4 separate regions of the Homo sapiens genome follow, and all the other regions are linked to region 2. Evidence: promoter capture Hi-C in 16 types of primary human blood cells and fetal thymus (Javierre and others, 2016). All regions are on one chromosome and are shown on one strand. Each heading gives the region's core, a stretch centred on a gene start or on the middle of the fragment in contact. The rest is flanking DNA. Distances are from core to core; before and after follow the strand shown.

Region 1 (3,778 bases), core at 825-3,324, 540 kb before region 2:
CCCCGTCCCCCATCCACTCCCTCTGCCAGTCTCCCTCAGGGGTTACATTCTCAAGGCGGAAGCGGTTGATGGCCATCCCCCCACGATAGGTCTCCTCGCTGACCACCAGGAACTCCAGGGAGGGGTCAGAGCCAGCGGGCCCATAGGGGTCCAGCAGGGGGATGACATCAAAAGTCAAGGAGGGCTTGATGTCCACCAGGAATTCACTCAGATGTTCCACACGTTCTGTATAAGGTTGGAGCAGCTCAGGGAGCAACTTGCCTGGGGAAGGAGCCCAGAAGAACAGTGAGATCTTTTTATTGGGGAGGAGAGTATGGGCCAGTTTGGGAAAAAGTGTCCCTAAGTACAGTATCCCCAGAGGGGGTGGCAGAAAGGGTTCAACTGGTAAGGCCTATGGTGATGGTGAGGGGAGCATGAAGGTGAAGAAACAGGCAAGCACAATAGTCACTCCAAGGGCTGGCATGTGTCCAGAGAATAAGCCACCAGGAAACCACTCCAGAGAACGAGCAGTGCCAGAGGGCATCAGAGGCAGATGGAAAATTCCAAGACCCATGCCATGCTTGAGTTTCCTCCTCCTGTCTGTGGCACTGCTACCTGCAGCTCACTCACCCATTCATTCCCAGTGTCTCATTAGGGTGTATCACCTGGAAAACTTGCTAAAATGCAGATCCCTTTGCTTCACATTTGGGGTATTCTGATTGAGTGGTGACTGGACCACATGCTGAGAAAGCTGTTCATTTGACAAAATGGCCTTAGCACCAATTGAGTGTCAACCACTGTGACATTTGGGAAGGGTGGGAAGTAATGAATGGCCCTACCCTTCCTTGATCTCGGCATAAGGGTCGGGGGTGGGGAGATTTGGGGATCCTCCACCCTAGTCCAGGGTCCCTCTTACTCACTCTTCAACAGATCTTTGTCTGCTACTCCCACCACAAGCTGCTCCTGGGCCAGGATGCACGCGACACTGAGCAACACCTTGTGGGCGTTGTGCAGGCGGTCAAACGTGCCACCGACAGCGCCACGGTAGTAGCCACGCACCGGCTGCTTTGGAGACCCGGCCACGGGGGAAGCTGGCCTGATCGTGGAGGGTAAGGGGACATCCAGGGGCTCCACGGGCACTTCTCCTATCCCATAATCGGAGTATAGCAGCACCGAGGCCAGTCGCGGACAACAGCTGTAACAGCTGGTGGCGTAACGCACTAGCTGCTGTTTGACCGGGTTGTACTGGCTTCCATCCAGGGTCTGGAAATCTGTCAACACGACTTCTGGCGGGTGGGCGAGATTCTGGACTGAGGTGGGCAGGGGAGGGAGAAAGGTGCTCTTGGTTCGGATATTGGTCAGTAGGATTCTGACGTCCAAGTGCCTGTGGACGTCGGCGCCAGCATAGAGGTGCGTGATGAAATCAAGAACCTCAAACGTGGCCTGCACGGGGCTGGACTGGGGCTGAGCCGGGCCCTCCAGGCTCATGCCCGGCTGCAGGTGAACATAGAGTGTGTGATTCACCAGCCGGGCCGCCGAGGTCAGGATGGAGGCCAGGCGAGGGGCTAGGGAGGCCAGCGGCGTCGTCAGCACCAGGAGACCCGACCGGAATACGGCCATGCTGCCCAGGCCTGCGGACAGTCAGGGAGACGAGGCGACGGTGACTGAAGGGCCTGCGGCCGAGGCAGAGGCCTGTATGGGACCTTGGACCCCAGAGAAGGAGGCCTGGAGCAGGGACGGGGTTTCAGTGCTGACCGACAGGAGCCGGGGGAGGGGACGGGGCCTGGTAGACGGCGCCTCGGGGCTGTGCTCTAAGCCTTGGTGTCCTCATTTCTCAGACGGGGCGGTGACTTCGCTGAACTGAGTCGAAATCCTGGGAGGGGGAAACTGGACAGGAACCCTTGTCACAGGGCTGGGGATCCAAAAATCCTGGGCCCTCTTGCTAAGCTGCACCAGGGTCTTCAAGGAATCGAAGAGGGAGGCTAAAGGGGGACGCTAAAGCTCACGTCGGCCCCCTACTCACTGAAACCTCAAGGCTTGGGTTCCACTTGCACCACCGCGGAGGCTTCCCTGGCTGCAACCCGGAAGCACTAACGGAGAAACCGCAACTCGGAACTACGGAAACGGAGGAAGGTCAAACGTCTCGACTTCGCTTCAGCGCGGGATTCTCGCGAGATTTCCAGTGGCATGGGCTGTGTCCTGCTGATGGGGTGGGGCTGATCCCGAAGGCTCTGGGAGTGGGTGAAGCCTTGATGCCGATCGGACCCCCGCTGGGACCGGGCGGAGAAAGGCAAGGCAGGTTTCAAAGCCCATTTCACAGATTCCCTTCTGGCCTGATGAGGAGAGATTAGTTTCAGCCAGGCCACCCAAGAGGCATCGGCAAAGCCAGAACTAACACCCAGATTTCCTTCATTCCAGGGACAGAGGTGGGGAATCACAGGGCTGCGCTGTATTAGCCCTCCTAGTACCCTCTCAGTCCGAGGATTCTCACATGGGAGGCTACTGGACAGGTCTGTCCACGTACCCATTTCACAGATGGAAAAACTGAGGCCTTGTGTGTACCTGGCTGCTGTAGGAGGCTCTCGCACCACCCAGATCCTCTGATGCGCTTGTTTGCGGGGTCTCTGTGGACAGGAGAAAAAGGCAAAGGCTGATTGGGCGCGGTGGCTCACGCCTGTAATCCCAGCACTTTGGGATGCCGAGGTGGGCAGAGCATCTGAGGTCGGGAGTTCGAGACCAACCTGACCAATATGGAGAAACCTTGTCTCTACTAAAAATACAAAATTAGACGAGCGTGGTGGCGCATGGCTGTAATCCCAGCTACTCAGGAGGCTGAGGCAGGAGAATCGCCTGAACCCGTGGGCGGAGGTCGCGGTGAGCCAAGATTGTGCCATTGCACTCCAACCTGGGCAACAAGAGCGAAACTCCCGGCCGGGCGCGGTGGCTGACGCCTGTAATCCCAGCACTTTGGGAGGCCGAGGCGGGCGGATCACGAGGTCAGGAGATCGAGACCATCCTGGCTAACACGGTGAAACCCCGTCTCTACTAAAAATACAAAAAAAAATTAGCCGGGCATGGTGGCAGACGCCTGTAGTCCCAGCTACTCGGGAGGCTGAGGCAGGAGAATGGCGTGAACCCGGGAGGAAGAGCTTGCAGTGAGCCGAGATCGCACCACTACACTCCAGCCTGGGTGACAGAGTGAGACTCCGTCTCAAAAAAAAAAAAAAAAAAAAAAAAGCGAAACTCCCTCTGGAAAAAAAAAAAGAAAAAAGAAAAAGGCAAAGGCTGGATACCTAGTGTGGGAGATTTACTGCGAAGCTAATGGGCGCTTGAAAGGCTGAGTGTGGAGGGGAAGCCAGGTTGCTATTAGAATACATCTCAGGTAAGTTGTGCATGGAGATCAAAAGGGAGAGAAGCCAGTCTCCAAGATTCCAGTAATGTGCCGTGGTATCCGAAACTTAAAAAAAAAAACAAAACTCACTTTTATATGTAATTTTGTGTTTATCTTTTGTATTCTTGAAGACGGTCTCCAAAAGCAAATAAGCCCCCAGCCCCACAAAACCTGGGCTTATGATGGAGAAAAGGAGATGCTATTTTAGATAAGGTGATTCAGGAAAACAGCAAAGACCTGGAGGAAGAGATACAGTCAAGGAGGGAAGAGTTGTAGAGCCACAAAGGTATTAAGGGACCAGGCTTCTCACAGGAGACATGTTAGATTTAAAGATAGGGTCTGATTTGAAGACACAAACAGCAAAGGCTGCCAGAGAATGTCCCAAGACATCTGGACACACAGTCTGAC
Region 2 (3,729 bases), core at 485-2,984:
GCCTCCCAAATAGCTGGGACTACAGATGCATGCCACCACACCCAGCCTATTCCAAGATTTTAAAAAATGATGAGCGCCTGAATCGGGATGGAAAGGTGGAGATAGATTTGGGAAATATTTGGTAGGAGAATCAACAAAACTTGGCAACAAATTGGAAGCCAAGAGTGAGAATGGTTTAATCCATTTAACAAGATACGGAATTTAGGAAAGATAATAATTACATCCAACATTTGTTTTTTCTGTTGTTGAGGTGTGGGTAGACAATGAAAAAGTTAAATTTAAATATGGTAAGCCTTGGGGATTTGTGAAACATACAAGAGATATCCAGTAGATAGTTGGATATACAGCTGTGGAAGCTGAAGAAAGGTCTAGGTTGGAGATATGAAAAGTTGAGAGTCATCAACAGATGGAAGTAAAGCTGTGGGAATAAATGAGTTGCCTTAGATAGAACATAAAGTGGGAAGATGGTGAGACAGGTTGGCTAGCATTAGACTGGACTATGAGCCACTGGCAGGCAGGGCAGGTGGTCTGTAAGTCTTGTGCCCTCACAACCTAGCACAGAGTAGGCGTTTTGGAAAGGGCTGAGTGATTGGCTCAACGAATGACCCCTCCTTTCCAACCTAGTGAGCTTGTCCTATCCCTCCCTACTCAGTGGTCGCTGTGGTTTCAGCTCCCTCCACACTGGGATAGGCAGAGTATGAGCATTGGCACATGCTGTTTTCCTGGAACAAACAGGTAAATCCTTTTAAAATTCCTTTGCCCTCTTCTTATTTTACTCTTAGCTTTACATTGTAAAGCTACTCCTCATACTCCTCCAATTTAACCCCAGAAAGCTCCAATTTAATTCAGCTCCACAAATAGTCGTTTGGGTGAGGGAATAACAACAAAGACAGTTAAACTGTGCCCTTGTCCCCTATGAATTCTCAATCCAGACCGCATTCGGCAAGGCAAGCGTGATGAGTAGAGAGTTTATATAAGAGGTGGGAGTACTGGGGACACAAGAGCAAGGACCTCACCCCGCGAGCTTCCTTATAAACTCCAGGGCAGGGTCTGGGGCGCCATGTGTCAGCTTTCCTAGGCTTAATGCTGAGATGGCACTCCCAGGCGGCTGACATGAAAGGAGCCTTGTAAAAGGGTCAGCGTCATTAGGGTGATGAACCAGTTGGTGTTTGGAGATCCGGAGTGGATGAAAGGCGCAGGGTGAAGACGCCCTGCGTTCCCCTGGCTTGACTGGGCAGGGCTTCCAGAGAACGATGAAAGCTGGGGGAACTGAGCTCAAAGTGTCTCTTGACTTTCCCGGGAAGAAGCTGTGGACACACTCCAAGGTCGGAAAGGTAGCAGTGGGGACTCCTTCCCTACAGAGTCTTGGGTCACCTGGTCCCCACGCAACCCAGACTCCACGGAGCCTTTCAGGAAGACTCTCTAGGATTGGAAGTTGCTATGGCAATGAGGCTCTTGGAATACTGAAAGCAGCCAAGCCCTAGAGAGGCTACCACCGGTACACCCCGCCTTCCCACCCACGGGTAAAGTGGCGCCGCCTACGCACCGGCACAGCCCCTGGGCTCCCGCCCCGGCGCGGAGACCACCGTGGACATCCGGGGGCGGGAGGCCGCTCTGGCCCCAAGCGGAGCCTCTCTCTGGTAGACGAGCCCGAGGGAGCCCTTCTGGGCGCGGCGCCGCGGAGCTGCTCTATGCTCCAACCGGAAGTGCTCTTCACCGCCGGCCTCCCACCCAGCTCTCTGGTCCCGGCGGTAAGATGGCGGCTGCCGCGGAGTGCGATGTGGTAATGGCGGCGACCGAGCCGGAGCTGCTCGACGACCAAGAGGCGAAGAGGTAACCGGGTAGCAGGGTAGTAGAGGAGGCGACCTGCAGCTCCGTGGCTCAGGGAAACTCGTTCCTGCCATGATGCAGCCCCCAGCTGTTGAGGCGATGCCCCGCCCTCCGCAAACACCCCCCCATCTGAGATCAAGGCCGGATGGACCCCCTGAAGGGGCGCTCTTGGGGGTCGGCCTTCCTCTCCCGCTTCCGCCTGGCGTAGGAGCTGAGGCATGGCCTTGTTCTCCAGCTGAGAGGACGATCGTCCTTATAGGAGAGGCCGAGTCTCCGAGGGCAATTTCAGAGGTCTGGTGCGAGGTGGGGGAAGCGGCGCGGCGTCGATGACGACTTCCTTACATCGCCCCCGACCCCCGCGTTCTCTTGTTAACTTCTGTGCATTGTTGCCTGTCTGCACTTTCCGTCTCCAAAACCTTTGCTCTCCTCACCCCGTTTTCCCTTGTAATTATACCCCAGCGATCACTAGTCTGGGTTCGAAGTGATTGTGTGTCTCCATAATTGACCTGGTTGCCCCCGGTTATCCCAGAAGTCAAAGATGACAGAGAAAAAAAGGAAGAGCGAGGGGCTTATCTCGTGTTCTCTACGTCAGACTCCTCTTCCCCTGTCCTTCCTGGGTGATCTTTATCCTTCCCAGCACTGTTCTTTCTTAAGTTAAGCACCAAGGAAGAGGGCAACTGCTTGGGCGCTGTTGGCACTCCGAAGCAGCCGCAGTGGTTCGAGATTGCCAGTCGGACTAGCCAAGGGAGCTGCTGAGTGAGTGGTTTTCGAGAACGCTCTAGATTCTGGCAACAGTTAGGCCAGATTATTGGAAGTGGGGTTGGAACAGAGTTGTGGGTAGTCATACTTGTTCTAATCCTAAAGCAGAATTGACAAGAAGGTTCTAGAAGTTTGGAGCCCTTTCCTTATCAGCTGCGGGTTAGTCTGACCCTTTTGTTCAAGATATCTACAGTGCCCTCAGTCTCTTTGCAACATACTTTATATCTTCATACCAAGCCCGTTGTGTCTTCAGGCTGGGTAATTTGAGGCGGTGATGTAGAATTAGTTCATGAGATCTGAAATCAGGATTCTGAGATTTTTACTATCTAATGAGTTCGAAATATAAGAAGTACTCGGACGCAATGAATAGTTATCAAGCTTGAGGGTGGTTACCACAGCCAGATCTCAAGTTCCTGATCTGCTGGGAGCTGAGGGGCCTGACAAAGTGTAATAGGCCCCTGGGATATCAGAGAAGCCAGGACACCAGAGTCCAGTCTCTGTTCTTAATTTTGAGCTTTCATGTTGTTCCTACTTCTTCCTAGATATTTAAAGCTAAGCATCATCAACCCTTATACATCATTAAAGAGCTGCACAATGGGAAACAAAATTCCTCCCAGTGCAGACGGAGCTTAAATTAATTGTAGAGATTTACTTGTATTTGGAAAGAGTTCAGTGGTTCTTTATACTGTAAATAGGGATTTGGCCACAGGTTATTTATTTTTTATTTTTTGAGACGGAATCTCGCTCTGTCGCCCAGGCTGGAGTGTAGTGGCGCGACCTCAGCTCACTGCAAGCTCCGCCTCCTGAGTTCACACCATTCTCCTGCCTCAGCCTCACCAGTTGCTGGGACTACACGTGCCCACCACCACATCCGGCTAATTGTTGTTTTTTTTTTGTATTTTTAGTAGAGATGGGGTTTCACCCTGTTAGCCACGATGGTCTCGATCTCCTGACCTCGTGATCCGCCCACCTCGGCCTCCCAAAGTGCTGGGATTACAGGCGTGAGCTACTGTGCCGGGCTGGCCATAGGTAATTTTAAAAACTCACCCTACTCATTGTAAATCTCTGATGTAGAGTGTCCCTATTTTGGACTTCATTTCATAGCCTCCTATCTTAAGCAAATACATTTCTTCAATCACA
Region 3 (3,757 bases), core at 917-3,416, 590 kb before region 2:
AGTCTCTCTCTTTCTCCCAGGCTGGAGTGCAGTGGCGCGATCTTGGCTCATGGCAACCTCCGTCTCCTGGGTTCAAGCGATTCTCCTGCCTCAGCCTCCCCAGTAGCTGGGATTATAGGCGCATGCCACCATGCCCAGCTATTTTTTGTATTTTTAGTAGAATCAGAGTTTCACCATGTTGGCTAGGCTGGTCTTGAACTCCTGACCTCAGGTGATCTGCCTGCCTTGGCCTCCCAAAGTGCTAGGATTACAGGCGTGAGCCACCACGCCTGGCCCATTAACTCTACTTCTATGTAGCTCTGGGCAGCTTATTTAATTGCTCTATGCCTCAGTTTCCTCATCTGTACAATGAAGGTAATAATACAGGTCCATATACCCTTATCTAACAGTGTTGGGGCCAGTTATGTTTTGGAATTCAAAATATTTCAGATTTTAGAAAGGTATTATGGTATATATACTATATATTAAATAAAATTCCAGTGGGAATTTTTATTTAATCAGAAGCACGTTAATCAAATATATTAGTATTTCTGTAATAAAAGGCATCACTAATGACAGTAAGTTGGATAGAAACTATAGGGCCGGGCATGGCGGTTCACGCCTGCAATCCCAGCACTTTGGGAGGCCGAGGCAGGTGGATCACGAGGTCAGGAGATCAAGACCACCCTGGCTAACACAGTAAAACCCCGTCTCTACTAAAAATACAAAAATTAGCCAGGCGTGATGGCAAGCACCTGTAATCCCAGCTACTCGGGAGGCTGAGGCAGGAGAATCGCTTGAACCCGGGCAGCAGAGGTTGCAGTGAGCTGAGAGCGTGCCACTGCACTCCAGCCTGGGCGACAGAGTGAGACTCCGTCTCAAAAAAAATAAATAAATAAAAATTAAAAAAAAGAAACTATAAAACAGCCTGTCTTCATTGAAATTTGTTTTTGCTGATAAACTAGTTATGAAATGTCCTTTGGTTTCATGGCTTTCTGGATCCTGGAAAGGCAGATAAGGGACTGTGGACCTGTAGTACTTACTTCTAGGGTTGTTGGGAGATTTAGAAAAATTAATATATGTAAAGCACTTAGAATGACCTGGCACACTGCATTAGCTAGTGTAGGCGCTTGACAATATTACATAGTCCACTCCCTGCAGCCAGGTCTCTCCCTCCAGCATTCATACATCCCTGATCCGGTTTTCCCTCTCTTCGGGACGTCATAGAGCCTGTCCCTACCCAGCGAGTTGTGGGCCCTGCCAGGGAATAGGAAACGACCTGGGAGAATCCGCTGGCCCAGTTGTTGCCAGCTCCTCCTCCATGTTCCGACAGGTAGATGTTCTCTGGGTTGTAGAGCTTGGCATAGGGGGAGTTGAGGATGGAGTGGATCACCCGGGGTTCCAAGTCCAGCAGCACGGCCCGGGGGATGTAGTGCTCATCGTCTGCCTGTCAAGGGGAGTCCAGGAGGGGGCCCAATCAGCTAGGGCGGCCCAAGTCCGAAGTCCTCCCAACTCTGGCTCCCTCCGGCCCTCCCTCCTCAAGCCAGCCGCCTGGCCCTACTGCCCAGCGGGGTTCCCAGTACCAGGCCACTCCCTTCCCTTCCGCCCCCTTGGGCAACTGCCGCCCCCGGCCAAGTCGCTGGGGGCACCTGGTAGAAAAAGACGTCCTTGCGGTCAGTGCCCTCGGTGGCGAACTCCTCCACGATGCCCTCGGGGCTGATACCATGCTCGGCGCACAGCTGTTTCCAGAACTCGAACCCAACTGGGGGGAAGGGGCGGGCAGGGGAGAAAGAAGATATCTAGGTCCGGGCAGGTTCCAATCAGGAGCCGGGGGACTGGGCGCCTGCGTCCAGGGATAAGAAGTCAAGCCGCAGGACTCTCCCGTGTCTGAGGAAAGGACTGTACGCCAGGGACTGGGCAGGGGAGGGCCCCTCGGGGTTGGGCAAGTGGACACTGGGTCAGGGATGTCTCGCCTTTCAGAGAACTACGATTCTGGCAAGGACAGATGGAGTCCAGGATCCCACAGCGAGATCCCATTGACCCTAAGGAACCTGGCTAGCTGAGGGGCCGGAGTTTCGCTCACTCTGATTGCCGCACTGGCCCAACTGTAGGGTGATGATTTCCCTCGGCATCGCTCCTCAGGCACCGGCGTTGCAGCCGCTCCCGCCCGCAACGGCGCCGCACGCCAGCCCGCTCGCCGCAAGACGCAGGCGCCAAACAACCAGCTCCACCCACGAACTTCCTCCGCTCCAATGAGAATCGAGTTCTGGCAATGAATGGCACGTCTTTAAGCACTGGCCTTCGTTCATGCAGATTGCGCGTGCGCGGCTCCGGATGCGGCTCGGCGCCTCCGGATCCGGCTCCGCGCCTCAGTGAGGGCGGGGTACGGCGTCCTCCCTCCCCTCTGGGTGGGCGCCTGCTTGGGCCTGCGCGCAAGCGCGCTGTGGTGCGAAGCCACCTCCCCCGCCGAATCGCGCATCTGCGCAGTTGCTGTTATTGTGACTTGTCGGGCCACGGCCCCGGATGTTGTGGCTGCCGCGGGGAGATGGCTGAGGCCGAAGGGGTTCCCACGACCCCAGGCCCGGCTTCGGGGTCGACTTTCAGGGGCCGCCGAGATGTGTCAGGCTCCTGGGAGCGGGACCAGCAGGTTGAGGCGGCGCAGCGGGCCCTGGTGGAGGTGCTGGGGCCTTACGAGCCTCTGCTGAGTCGGGTGCAGGCAGCCCTGGTGTGGGAGCGGCCAGCTAGGAGCGCTCTGTGGTGCCTGGGGCTGAACGCGGCTTTCTGGTGAGAGAACTGGACCCTCGGAAACCCTCCGAGTCCCGAATTCGTTGGTTCCTCTAGGGCTCTACTTCTCGCCTGCCCTGTTTTCTTCGCTGCACTGGCTCCTTCCTGTACTTGCCTAATTTTGCCTCACCTCCTTCCACTCCATCCCGCCTGCAGGCTTCGGCACCCTAGTTCTTCCCAGGGCCGTCCACCCATCTTCTCTGCCTTACCTGTGCCCGCACCCCCGCCCCGCACATCTGGCGGGAGCTTCTGGTAACATCTTGAGCCGCTCAAGAGTGAGCGAGGGCTCCTCTTTTGAGCCCGACAAAGCTGCGTCCCTTTAAAGCCATCACTTCCTTTCTCTTGTCTGCTCAAGTGCAAGTTCTAGATTGTTTCCAGAGGTTTTAGTAGTTTATTGTTGGAGTAGAGGCGTGAAGTCTTGCAAAGGTATCCATAGGTGTGATTATAAAACAAGCTTGAGCGATTCGCATGAATTAGCATGTTATATATCTAGGAAGGAAGTTTATGAAGTCTAAGCGTCAGTGTGAGCCCCCAAAGCTGAAAATTGAAAGAAAATTACAAGCTTTTAAAGAACAGTTAGGAAATGATGACGGAGATTACACGCGTGTCAAAGCCACCTGTGATTGTAACTCCTCCCTGTTCCAAGGAATTAGAGAGGCATCCTTAGCCATGGTTTATAGGCAAGGAAATTGATGTCTAATACTGTGTGTGAGTTTTCCTGAGCTGGAAAAGTAGCACTGTAAATATGCTTTATTTGTGTGTGTCATGCTCTGTGAAAATGGAACTGCTGCTTCTCTCAGTTGTCATCACCTGAAGTGGACCTAGGACTTCATAGGATCTACCAACCATAATTTTGGATTTATTTGTAATGGAGGAGGTTCCAAGGGAACTGACTTATAGGGGGCTTTCTGCTGCTGAATGGATTAAGACTATTCTGGATAAGCCTGAAACAACAAAATATGTGTGTTTTTTAATTGTGTTTTTGCTAAAAATA
Region 4 (3,834 bases), core at 201-2,700, 510 kb before region 2:
TGACTTCGGCAAGATCAATAACTAGTAAGGAAAGCAGCTCTGGGCTAGAACCGGGAACTCTTAACTTCCAGAGCAGGGTTCTTGCTGCTCTTCCCCAGGCAGTGCAACTTGTCAGGCTGCCTATCTGATCAGGGAGGGCTTGAGTAAGGCTGCTCCGGGGCTGGGAGTGGCCCACTCTCCAGAAGGACTGCACTAGGTGTGCTAGATGTGGTGGCTCACACCCGTAGTCACAGCACTTAGGGAGGCCGAGGCAGGTGGAGCGCTTAAGTCCAGGAGTTCGAGACCAGCCTGGGTAACATGGAGAAACCCTGTCTCTACAAAAATCATCTGGGCACAGTGGCCTGTGTTTGTGGTCCCAGCTAGCTCCTCAGGAGGCTGAGACAGGAGGACGGCTTGAACCCAGGGGTTTGAGGCTGCAGTGAGCCATGACCACACCACTGCACTCCAGGCCAGGCAACAGAGTAAGACCCTGACTCAAAAAAAAAAATGTCTAGCCCATTGCAGTGGCCCCTGATCCTAAGAGGTTGAGGCAGGCAGATCACTTGAATCTAGGAGTCCAAGACCAGCCTGGGCAACAAGGCAAAACCCCTCCTTCTCTACAAAAAATACAAAGATTAGCCCAGCATGATGGCATGTGCCTGTGGTCCCAGCTACTGAGGAGGTTGAGAGGGTAGGCTCGCTTGAGTCTGGGAGGTCAAGGCTGCAGTGAGTCCAGATGGCACCACAGCACTCCAGGCCAGGGACTGAGCAAGGTAACACATTATCATCTGTTTATTTAAGGCTCTGTAAACAGTGGTTGTGGGAGGGAGGGGGAGATTCAGGGACACTGTGAGTGAAAGACTTTTATAATAGGGTCTTTAGTACTGTTTGATCCTTTTTTTTTTTTTTTTGAGATGAGTCTCGCTCTGTTGCCCAGGCTGGAGTGCAGTGGTGCCATCTCCTGTCTCAGCATCCCAACTAGCTGGGACTACTGGCATGTCTTGGGGTGGGGGGAGGGGTCTCAAAAAAGAAAGAACTTACTGACAACAGTATAGGTTTGGAAAAGGAAAGTTTATTAGAAAGGAAGAACACTGCAGCAGAGTGCAGCAGGTGCCTCCACGGGAGGACTGAGTGCGCTGTGGTGGATTTTCCTTAGGAGCATGTATGGACCTTAAGGTGAGAGCTTAGGGTTGTAAAATGAGCTTCAGCATGGCATAGAATGTACAGAAATTTTACGTTGTGAGGGCAGAGCCCTCAGGAATGGGGTTGGTGCCTTTGTAAGGGAGGCCAGAGAGAAAGCCCTACCCCTTTCTACCATGTGAAACCACAGTGAGAAGGCATAGCTCATAAAGCAGGAAGTGAGCCCCCACCAGACACTGAATCTATAAGCACCTTGATCTTGGACTTCCTAGCCTCCAGAAGTGTGAGAAATAAGTGTTTGTTGAATTTTTTTTTTTTTTTAAAAAGAATGTATAGACATTTTAGTTACTTATAAAAGTTGAAAGAGGCTTGGAATCAGATGCCGACTTTAAATACTAGGGAAGTTTTTTTTGTTTGTTTTTTCTTTTGAGACAGAGTCTCCCTCTGTCGCCCAAGCTGGAGTGCAGTGGCCTGATCTCAGCTCACTGCAACCTCTGCCTGCTGGTTCAACCAATTCTCCTGTCTTAGTCTCCTGAGTAGCTGGGATTACAGGCATGCACCATCATGCCCGGCTAATTTTTGCAGGGAGGGTGTTTCATCATGTTGGCCAGGCTGGTCTCTAACTGTTGACCTCAAGTGATCCACCTGCCTTGGCTCCCAAAGTGCTCACAAAGTGTGTGTGATTCACCATGCCTGGCCTTTATTACTTCTAAATTCCCCAGGCAAGGAGTTTCGCCTCCAGATGGCCTGTTTGATGGTCAACAGGTGGTCTTTGCTCCTTGGATTGCTCCTTTTTTTTTTTTTTTTTGAGACGGAGTCTTGCTCTATCACCCAGGCTGGAGTGCAGTGGTTCGATCTCTGCTCACTGCAAGCTCCGCCTCCCGGGTTCATGCCATTCTCCTGCCTCAGCCTCCCGAGTAGCTGGGACTACAGGTGCCCCGCCACCACGCCCAGCTAATTTTTTGTATTTTTAGTAGAGACGAGGTTTCACCATGTTAGCCAGGATGGTCTCGATCTCCTAACCTCGTGATCCACCCGCCTCGGCCTCCCAAAGTGCTGGGATTACAGGTGTGAGCCACTGCGCCTGGCGGATTGCTCCTTATCTAAATTGCTCAGATAAGAACTTTTTGTCTTGGGGGGGGTGATTTTTGCTCTCCTCACCTTTCTTTGGGTCTAGATTGGGACCCCTTTCCAGTAACAATTTTACAGATTGGGAAACAGAGCCAGAGACAGGAAGTGAGTTGGGCAAGATCAATAACTAGTAAGGAAAGCAGCTCTGGGCTAGAATCGGGAACTCCTGACTCCCAGAGCAGGGTTCTTGCTGCTCTTCCCCAGGAAATGCAACTTGTCAGGCTGCCTATCTGATCGGGGAGGGCTTAAGTAAGGTTGCTCCGGGGCTGGGAGTGGCCCAGTCTCTAGAAGGACTGCACTAGGTGTGCTAGATGTGGTGGCTCACACCTGTAGTCACAGCACTTAGGGAGGCTGAGGCAGGTGGAACACTTGAGTCCAGGAGTTTGAGACCAGCCTGGGTAACATGGAAAAACCCTGTCTCTACAAAAATCATCTGGGCACAGAGGCCTGTGTTTGTGGTCCCAGCTAGCTCCTCAGTAGGCTGAGGTGGGAGGATGGCTTGAGCCCAGGGGTTTGAGGCTGCAGTGAGCCATGATCACACCACTGCACTCCAAGCCAGGCAACTGTTGGGAACAAGCCCCGCAAAATCTGGCCATAAACCGGCCCCAAAACTGGCCATAAACAAAATCTCTGCAGCACTGTGACATGTTCATGATGAACATAACGCCCACGCTGGAAGGCTGTCAGTTTACCAGAATGAGGGCAAGGAACACGTGGCCTGCCCAGGGTGGAAAACTGCTTAAAGGCATTCTTAAGCCATAAACAATAGCATGAACGATCTGTGCCTTAAGGACATGCTCCTGCTGCAGTTAACTAGCCCAACCTATTCCTTTAATTGCCCATCTCTTCGTTTCCCACAAAGGATACTTTTAGTTAATTTAATATCTGTAGAAACAATGCTAATGACTGGCTTGCTGTTAATAAATATGTGGGTAAATCTCTGTTCAGGGATCTCAGCTCTGAAGGCTGTGAGACCCCTGATTTCCCACTTCACACCTCTATATTTCTGTATGTGTGTCTTTAATTCCTCTAGCGCCGCTGGGTTAGGGTCTCTCTGACCCAGCTGGTCTCGGCAGCAACAAAGCAAGACCCTGACTTAAAAAAAAAAAAAAGTCTAGCCCGTTGCGGTGGCCCCTGATCCTAGGAGGTTGAGGCAGGCGGATCACTTGAATCTAGGAGTCCGAGACCAGCCTAGGCAACATGGCAAAACCCCTTCTCTACAAAAAATACAAAGATTAGCCCGGCATGGTGGCATGCACCTGTGGTCTCGGCTACTAGGGAGGTTGAGAGGGGAGGATCGCTTGAGCCTGGGAGGTCGAGGCTGCAGTGAGTCCAGATGGCACCACAGCACTGCAGGCCAGGCCACAGAGTGACAGAGCAAGATAACACATTATCATCTGTTTGTTTGCTTTTTTTTTAAGGCTCTGTAAACAGTGGTTGTGGGAGGGAGGGGGAGAGTCACACTGTGAGTGAAAGCCTTTATTTATTTATTTATTTATTTATTTGATAATAGGGCCTTTAGTACTGTTTGATCGCCTTTTTTTTTTTTTTTTTGAGATGGAGTCTGGCTCTGTCCCCCATGGC

What was found. Contacts are between HindIII fragments. The CHiCAGO score rates a contact against its expected background, and 5 or more counts as called.
Region 1: a contact is called between the fragment with the promoter of COASY here and the fragment with the promoter of DNAJC7 in region 2, in 3 of 17 cell types (neutrophils, fetal thymus and activated CD4 T cells). The highest score is 7.4, in neutrophils.
Region 3: a contact is called between the fragment with the promoter of TUBG1 here and the fragment with the promoter of DNAJC7 in region 2, in 1 of 17 cell types (fetal thymus). The highest score is 5.2, in fetal thymus.
Region 4: a fragment that was not itself captured here is called in contact with the fragment with the promoter of DNAJC7 in region 2 in 1 of 17 cell types (fetal thymus); the score reaches 8.8 in fetal thymus.

What each region holds. Positions count from the first base shown.
Region 1 is chr17:42,560,444-42,564,221 of GRCh38, reverse strand. It overlaps COASY (Coenzyme A synthase), which reads right to left and starts at 2,074. Exons shown (of 9, transcript NM_025233.7): 1 at 900-2,074; 2 at 47-261. The coding sequence starts at 1,599. RefSeq lists enhancers at 1,549-1,738, 1,749-1,998. The HindIII fragment of the contact is 14,901 bases long and covers 1-3,778 here.
Region 2 is chr17:42,015,444-42,019,172 of GRCh38, reverse strand. It overlaps DNAJC7 (DnaJ heat shock protein family (Hsp40) member C7), which reads left to right and starts at 1,734. Exons shown (of 14, transcript NM_003315.4): 1 at 1,734-1,833. The coding sequence starts at 1,757. It also overlaps a transcript of NKIRAS2 not described here. RefSeq lists a silencer at 1,426-1,575 and enhancers at 1,686-2,095, 2,166-2,215, 1,326-2,525. The HindIII fragment of the contact is 9,207 bases long and covers 1-2,969 here.
Region 3 is chr17:42,608,092-42,611,848 of GRCh38, reverse strand. TUBG1 (tubulin gamma 1) reads right to left here and starts at 2,166. Exons shown (of 11, transcript NM_001070.5): 1 at 2,063-2,166; 2 at 1,629-1,741; 3 at 1,259-1,426. The coding sequence starts at 2,111. It overlaps RETREG3 (reticulophagy regulator family member 3), which reads left to right and starts at 2,475. Exons shown (of 9, transcript NM_178126.4): 1 at 2,475-2,763. The coding sequence starts at 2,525. RefSeq lists an enhancer at 2,484-2,593. The HindIII fragment of the contact is 4,939 bases long and covers 1-3,219 here.
Region 4 is chr17:42,527,913-42,531,746 of GRCh38, reverse strand. No RefSeq gene overlaps it. Among named protein-coding and RNA genes, the nearest start is that of NAGLU, 6.4 kb to the left of the region's middle. The HindIII fragment of the contact is 6,143 bases long and covers 1-3,834 here.